2 separate regions of the Homo sapiens genome follow, and region 1 is linked to region 2. Evidence: promoter capture Hi-C in human tissues and cell types (Jung and others, 2019). All regions are on one chromosome and are shown on one strand. Each heading gives the region's core, a stretch centred on a gene start or on the middle of the fragment in contact. The rest is flanking DNA. Distances are from core to core; before and after follow the strand shown.

Evidence for each region. The method cuts DNA at HindIII sites, captures the fragments that hold promoters and counts their contacts. A contact is called where the count stands out against the background at its distance.
Region 1: a contact is called between a fragment that was not itself captured here and the fragment with the promoter of ABCC5 in region 2, in 1 of the 25 tissues and cell types used here (IMR-90 fibroblasts).

What each region holds. Positions count from the first base shown.
Region 1 is chr3:183,815,273-183,819,103 of GRCh38, reverse strand. It overlaps MAP6D1 (MAP6 domain containing 1), which reads left to right. Exons shown (of 3, transcript NM_024871.4): 2 at 993-1,110; 3 at 1,668-3,182. The coding sequence ends at 1,748. Among named protein-coding and RNA genes, the nearest start is that of YEATS2-AS1, 6.7 kb to the right of the region's middle. RefSeq lists an enhancer at 872-1,483. The HindIII fragment of the contact is 6,103 bases long and covers 1-3,831 here.
Region 2 is chr3:184,015,877-184,019,650 of GRCh38, reverse strand. ABCC5 (ATP binding cassette subfamily C member 5) reads left to right here and starts at 1,767. Exons shown (of 30, transcript NM_005688.4): 1 at 1,767-1,821. RefSeq lists an enhancer at 1,370-1,549 and a silencer at 2,030-2,199. The HindIII fragment of the contact is 8,418 bases long and covers 1-3,774 here.

The DNA.
Region 1 (3,831 bases), core at 87-2,586, 200 kb after region 2:
GGGCAGGAGCAACTCCGCACACGTGGGTGCCAGGCCCAGCTAGCTGGACACTTCCACCTTGGCCAGGTGCTCCTGGGACACAGGGACTTCTGCCTTCTGAGCTCCCCATCTTGCAGAGGAGTGGGTAGAATTAAAGGAGGTCCCTTTTGTTCAGAGAAATGGAAGCACTGTCTTTTCATGGAGAAAGCTGCTCCCGGTACATGGAGCTAGCGGTGCCAGCCTCATCCTCTCCCTCCAGGGCCCGCCTTCCCCCATCACACCACCCTCCCCGCCACAGGCTCAGCAACAGCGCATGATCCACTCCCTCCACCATGCACAGAGCTGTGCAAAGGCCAGGCCACCTTGGAGTCTTTTGAGATGGTCACTGCGATCCATTCTTCTGCATGAGTTAATGAGACAAAGTATAAAAAACTAAAAGTTCTGAGCCTTATTTTTCTTTTCAGTCTTAAGCGGGTCTGGCAAGCCAGGGCTGTGCCCGGTGCTGAGGGCATTTCCTCTTCAGGCATAAGCAGTCACCATGACCTGGGTCTCTTGAAGCAGCCTGGCTCTGGAGGGGCAGGTGTGGGAGAATCGCAGGGGGTGCAGGTATAGCACCGGGGCTGCTCGTCTCCAAGACCCAGCAGTGCCAGGTGCTGTTGCGTTCTGAATGAGACCCAGGTGCTAACTGAGCTCTGCCCTGACCCTGCCGCTCGCCTGCAGTGTGAGAATAAGCTTCCTCTCCTACTTCCTTAGGGACCGGGGTGAGCCCAGATTTCCCAGTGGATCGCTGAGGTGAGGGGCCAGGCAGCCACACACCTTTCTCCTGGAGCTGGGCCTGCACGGGAGTGCACTTGCCTTGCCAGTTCTGTCTTTGGGAAGATGATGAGGACTGCCTGGAGCCGAGGGTTTCAGCAATTGGCAGGGCCGTGCATGGGGCAGAGCAGCAGCCCCTGGGGAGTCGGTAAAGGGGTGGCTGACCCTGTGCAAGCTTGTGACCGTGTTCTCTGTTCCAGACAGGAATTCCAGGCTTGGACTGGAGTGAAGCCCTCAAGATCCACAAAGACAAAACCAGCCCGAGTCATCACAACCCACACTTCGGGATGGGACAGCAGCCCTGGGGCCGGCTTCCAGGTCAGCCGGAAGCTGGTGTAGCAGGGGTGTGGGTATAGAGGCCTCTTTCCCCGGGTAGGGATTAGGAGCCAGATTTTCATGGTGTAAAATGCAATTATGACCAGGGACAGCAGTGCCAACCAGATGTCCCGAACAAAAACCCAAGGTACTTCCTCATCAGTAGCCAGCTGGGTGGCCCTCTAGCGTTGGCCTCTCTGGTGAGCAGGGTCTCTCTGCCTCCTAAATCCCCATCTTACCCTTGGCCACTGAACGCTAGTGACTGGCCTGAGTACCACAGCATTTGTGTAAGAGGAAAGAGACGATGGAAGGGAGTGGGGGCATCTCAGCTCCGATTCCCAAGTGGTTCAGGGAGCAGAATGGAAGGTCCGTGTACCACTCAGCTGCTAATGCAGTGACGCCTATGGCTCACGGTGGGCAAGTCCCCTCTGACCCTTCAGGTCTCAACTCCTGGAGGATGCAGAGGATGGGAGGGGATTTTTTCCTGGAGCTGGGTAGTGGGGAAGAGTAGGGAGTTAAGGAAAAGTCCCACTGATATGTGGCCACACTTCATTTTTCAGGTCCCAGAGGTGAGGAAGAAGTTCACTCCTAACCCCTCCGCCATCTTTCAGGCCTCAGCTCCCCGGATTCTCAACGTGTGACTGCCTGCACCGTGACACCATGGCTGCCGACAGGACAGGGCTGGGGAGCGGCCTCAGGACCCACTGCCGCGGGGCTGGGCGAGAGCATGGCATGGGCCCCTGCGGGAGGGCACAGCCCCTCTCAAAGCTGTCACCAGGGCCAAAGTGCTGGTGTGGAGCAGATGCACCGATGGACTTGGCACACCCAGCTCAGCCTCAAGCATCCTCTTGAGAAGCCTGTGGAAGGCTCCTGCGTTCGTTAACTGCCATCTGGCCGTCTCTCAGTTTTGAAATCTCTGAGGAGCCTGAGGATCAAGTCAGTTGGGAACCGAATTGGTCCATGGAAGCTGAGGAATGTGGACACATCCGGCCCTTGAAAGAACCAGTTATGTCCACTTTTGGTGGATTTCCCAGGATGCGTGAGCACTTGATTAATTTCATAACCTACAGTGAGACCCTTGGCTCTTCCTACAAATGGCCCCTGCAGTTGAAGCTGTTGGAATCTTGGGCCGTCACCTGCATGACTCATGGTGATGCTGAGTATCCAGGAGGAAATTTCCAGAAGAAACAGACCGTCAGTCACGGGCTTCCACTTCACAGACCTCCTTATGGCCAAGATGAGCCTCATGTTTTAACAAAACAGTTCTTGGGATTGAATGACTCACATTTACCTTGTGCTAGGTTCTAAAGATTGAATCCACATTTTGTTACTAATGATTTTCCCGCTAACATAAGGATGATGAGCAGGGCACTATCATACACACTGGCTGAGAACTGGAACTGTTTTTGGGAAGGTGGCATTTGTCTCATTCCCTGAAATACCTTAAAATGTCCTCTACACCAACCCTTCCGTCTACCCTGCTCACATGTACAGTGACGGGGAACTCACCACCTTTTGAAGAGGCAGTTCATTTTCTTTGCAAAGCTCTCTCCTAACTTCCTCCGTAAATTCCAGCCAGCATGGCCACATGGGTCACGCCTGGTGCCTTCACACGTTTGAGGGGTCTTCGTCTCTTTTTAAAGCTTAGAGGTACAAGCTCAGGACAGTCTTCAGTAAGGAAATTTGTGGATTTCCCTTTGGATCTTTCTTCCTCTCCAGCCCACAAGTGGCTCTAGTGAGACGAGCATTTAAGCTGCAGGTGGTGGCACTCGGGTCTCAGAGCCACCAGACGTGCAGGTGGGACAGTGGTTCCAGCTCCGACTGCCTGTCAGCGTCCCTCCCAGGTGCTAGCCCTGGCAGGCACAGCCCTCCCCTCATGCCAGCAAAGGAAATGCTCTTGATGAGAGGCTCGCTTTAAAGAAGCCCAAAGCGTGTGCTTATCCAAGGGGTTCAGCTATTCCTGACTTCACGGCTTGCATGTTTGATTTTTCTAAGAGAAAAGAGGCTGCCTGCTGGGTGTCTGTGGAAATGAGATTAAAAACTGTACAATCTCAGATTTTACTAAAATGCAAAAATGTAGTTTCAGTTTCTTAAATTATAAGCACGAGTCTTCTCACGCTTGTTTTCTCCAGTCTCTTGGTGCTAAGGACTTCAGTGTGGTGCAGCTGCCGCCACACCTCAGAGGCCTGTTGATGCTGAGCACTTCTTGCTGTGGGGTGCAGAGCACATGTGGTAGGTGCAGCCCACAGAACCCACCCGTCCCCTACCCTCACCCAGGCGCCTCTCTCTGAAGCTCCTCAGGCTCTAATCCCAGCTTCACTTGCTACCTGTGAGCAACTGGGGTTCCGTTTCTTCACTGAGAAGTGACGACGCTACCAGCTACACCTTGTGGCTTGCCAAGAGCATCCGTGTTTATGGGTGGGGTGCTCAGTACAGGAAATAACTGAGGCACAGGTGTTAGGATTATTCTTTCCTGCCTTAGTCCCCCCTCCTCACTTTCCCTGGGAGCCAGCTGTGTTCCCACCTGCAGCTCCCAGCATCCTCTAGCTTGATGCCGTGTGCTCCCAGCCCCTCACCCCCCCTGGCCAACGTCACCCTGCACAGCGCCCAGATGCTTGTTTGTTCTTTTCCTATAATGGGCTGGTCAGCTCTGCTGCAGCTCAGCCAGGACCAACCGGGCCTGCCCCTTCCTGGCAGTGCTGGTGGGGCAGCCGCAGTGGAGGC
Region 2 (3,774 bases), core at 518-3,017:
GAGCTGTCTGTTCATGTCATTTACCTATTTTCCTATTGGGTTATCTGCCGTTTCTTACTGAACTTAGAAATTATTTTGAATATTTATTATTCAAAAACTTTGTCAGTTATAACTTGTGGTTTATCTTTTCAATTTATGCCATCTTTTAATATGGCAAAAATTATCAATCTTTCTTCCTTTATTCTTTGTTTCTTGTTTAAAAAGTTCTTTCCTACTCCCAAGTTCATAAAGATATTTCCTATCTTCTTCTAAAAGTTTTTAAGTTTTCCCTTTCACATTTAAGCGTTTGATCTACCTGAAATGGGTTTTTTCTGTGTGGTATGAAGCGGTAATCCCTGATTGTTTTTTCATATGTATAACCAATTGTTCCAGTACTATTTACTGACTCTTCTTGCTTTCCCCACGGATTCGTAAGGTTTTCTGTCACAGATCAAGTTACATGGATGCACCAGTCTGTTTGGGGGCTCTTTATTCTATTGCATTGGTCTATCAATCCGTGCGCAAGAATATGCTGCTTTACGATACAGTAGTGTCTTCACACTAGCTAACTAGCTAGCTGTTATAAAGATGGACAAGTCACTTTACCTTCTCCTTCTTCCTCTTCCTCTTCTTCTTCTTCTTTTTTAATCTTTGAATTAAAAAAAAATACGGCGGGGTGAGGTGGCTCGCGCCTGTAATCCCAGCACTTTGGGAAGCCGAGGCGGGCGGATTACCTGAGGTCGGGAGTTCGAGACCAGCCTGGCCAATATGGCGAAACCCTGTCTCTACTTAAAAAATACGAAAATTAGCCGGGCGTGGTGGCGGACGCCTGTAATCCCAGCTACTCGGGAGGCTGAGGCAAGGAGAACTGCTTGAACCCGGAAGGCGGACGCTGCAGTGAGCCGAGATCGCGCCATTGCACTCCAGCCTGGGCAACAGAGCCAGACTCCTTAAAAAAAAAAAAAAACTCATAATACCTACTCATAGGGCTGTAATGGAGATTAAAGGAAACAAGAATGGTATGTAAAGCATCGGATACAAGGTAGGGAAGAACTCAACAGTGGCTTTTATTTAATGATGCTGAAGGTACCGATGAAACAGAGAAATAAAGGGATCAATCTTTCTGGGAGCTTCAGTTTCATTTATAAAAAGAAGAAGATGAGTTAGCATAACATTTCTAAGGCTCTTGCCACTTCTAAGACTGTGATCCTGGCATTTTATTATCTAGAGACCAGGCAGCGAGACATTGATGGGCAGTTGGTGTTAAAGTGAGAAAGGCGGTATCTGCGCAGACTGCAGGGTCGAACCATGAGCAAGCAATCGTATCTGCCACAACAGATAAGAACTGGGGCTGGCCGGCCTGACGACTCTCAACGGGTTAGACGCGGGCTACGATGACCTTCACGATCTTTTCTGGCAGCTACACGGCCACGCAGGGTGGGACTGCTCTGCCTACGAACAGCACTGTGTGCGAACACAGGGCCACGGTTAAGCCTCCCGGCTGCCTCCCCCAGGGAACACGACCCCTGAGAAGATTCCAGACAGTCTCGCAGAGGCACGGGGAAGGATGGAACAGAGCCGGGAGCTCGGTGGGAAGAGGGGCAGCCCGCACCGCCCCCGGGATGTCACCGGCGCTTCTGGGAAATGTAGTCCTTCGCCGCGTCCGCAGCCCTGGGCACTCGGAAGGAGGACTACAGTTCCCTTCAGCCTTGGGAATGCTTTGTGCAGCGCGCTTGCGCGGTGTGGCGGCCGATGCCGCTATAAAGGCTTGTTTTGCTGCAGGGCTCATGCTCGGGAGCGTGGTTGAGCGGCTGGCGCGGTTGTCCTGGAGCAGGGGCGCAGGTAGGTGATGGCTGCTGCCGCACCCCTGCCCTCCAGCTCGGTTGTCACGGGGATCACCCCTTTGCATTTCCTCGGGGCGTGGCGGGATGTGGCCAGGGCTGCGAGCAGTTCGGGGGACACTGGAGACTTGGGGAACGGCGTATGGCCTCCCCCTGGTCTCCTGCCGCCGCCTCCTAGGCCTGTGAGCCCGGGGTCTGGTGACGGGGTCGTGTGCTGGAAGACAGGCAGGTAGGATCGGGATGAGCGGGCAGGGACGCGGGCTACGTCCCTGGCCGCGGCCGCCAGGGGGCGCTGCGCCCGCGGGCCGTGGGTGTGGGTCGCGCTCGCCTGGGCAGGCCGGAGCGGGCTGTGGGAACGCCCTAGGGCCCGGGCATCCCAGGCGAAGCGGGTCTGAGAGAAACGCCCACCTGGGAGGCTGTGCAGCGGGTGGCTCGGGGCACCCTGCTCAACCCGCAGCGGAGCCGCCAGCGACCTTCGAAGTAAGTCATCCCCTTCGTTTTTGCAAGCGGGTAAATGGAGGTACGTGACATAAGCACGCGCAGCAAAGCCGTGGCTGTGCCGGGAACGCAGCCCAGATCTCTCCACGGTCATCCAGTGCTCTTTTCGCTTCTGCCACACAGAGCCGCGGGTGGCTTTGTGTTTATCACACAGGGGCCATTTGGTTTCTGCACAGACGGAGAGGCTGGAGGCAGGTGGGCACAGGAACGACGGGGAAAGTTTCAGGAGGTCTTGGAGGAGGAGATGGCTAGGTTTTACTGTGGTCCGCAGCGTGTATGAAAGGTGAGGCTGCTTGGAGACGCAACAAGTGGATTACAGTGGGTGTGGTAAATACGTATCCCTTTAGCGTGGTGTCTTCCTCGTGCAGCTTGAGGGCCTGGAGGTGATGGAAACCTACTCATGAGTGTTGGGATGACTGCAGCTTGCACACACCAGTCTGGTAATCCCGTGCAACTCTCCTCCTGCCATGCAGTTGAATCAGTATCATTGTGCAGGGAGAGTGTCTACACTTTTATCAGTGGAAAGAGAATCTTGGTAAAAAAGGGCAGCTGACTAAGTGGCCTCAACCCTATTGGGCACTTCTTTGGGGTTCTCCCACGTTGATTATTCTGCTTCTACCCTTGTACATGTCTGGACAACAGGTTTGTTTTTTACAAACAAAAATCCCTTCTCTTTCTTCCTCTCTTGATAGCTGAGGCAAGTGAGCATTTAAAAAAGATATTCCAACAACTTTAAAGGAGGACACGAGAAGATAGGGAAATATAAATAGTATCAGTAAAATGGCTGGCCTGGGGATCCATCCTTGCTTGCTTGCTTGCTTCAGACTGGGGCTTTGTTTCTTTCCAAACCTGTCAGGATTCCCAGCTCTTCGCCGGCCTCCACGTGGGGTGCCCTCTTTTATGTTCCAGATACACAGACGATGGTGTCCTTATGTTCAAGGCCACAGACAGTAACTTTGTGCCTACTTTGGGCCTGCCTGCTCTCCTGATTGTGCCTCTTTTTCCAGGAAAGTAGAGATGAGTGTGTTAGAGATAATGGAACACTGTTCCCCACACCCTTCATACATAGAATAACTTAGTCCCTTAGGATAGTTTAGCAGTGTCTACCACAGCAGTCACTGTAGGCACAAAACAGTCATTATTTGTGTCATAACAGGGAAGTCGTTTTGTCCCTGCCTCTCTCTGCTCCTGTGCTCCACTGATTCTACTTCATCCTTTGAAATAAAAGTGGTTGAAAGAATCTTTGGTTATCATGGGTGCTTAGATAATTAAGATTATGTTCGTGTTCTTCTTGATGTGGCATTTCATATTGTGGATGAGTTCCAGTGACCTCCTCTGTTTCAAACTGCTCACCGCCCCAACCCCCACCTTTTAAAAAGGTAGTACTAATCTTTTCCTCTTCCAGATAATCAGCTAAGCTAGGGAACCCTTGAAGGGGAAGGTTAGAATTTCGTGA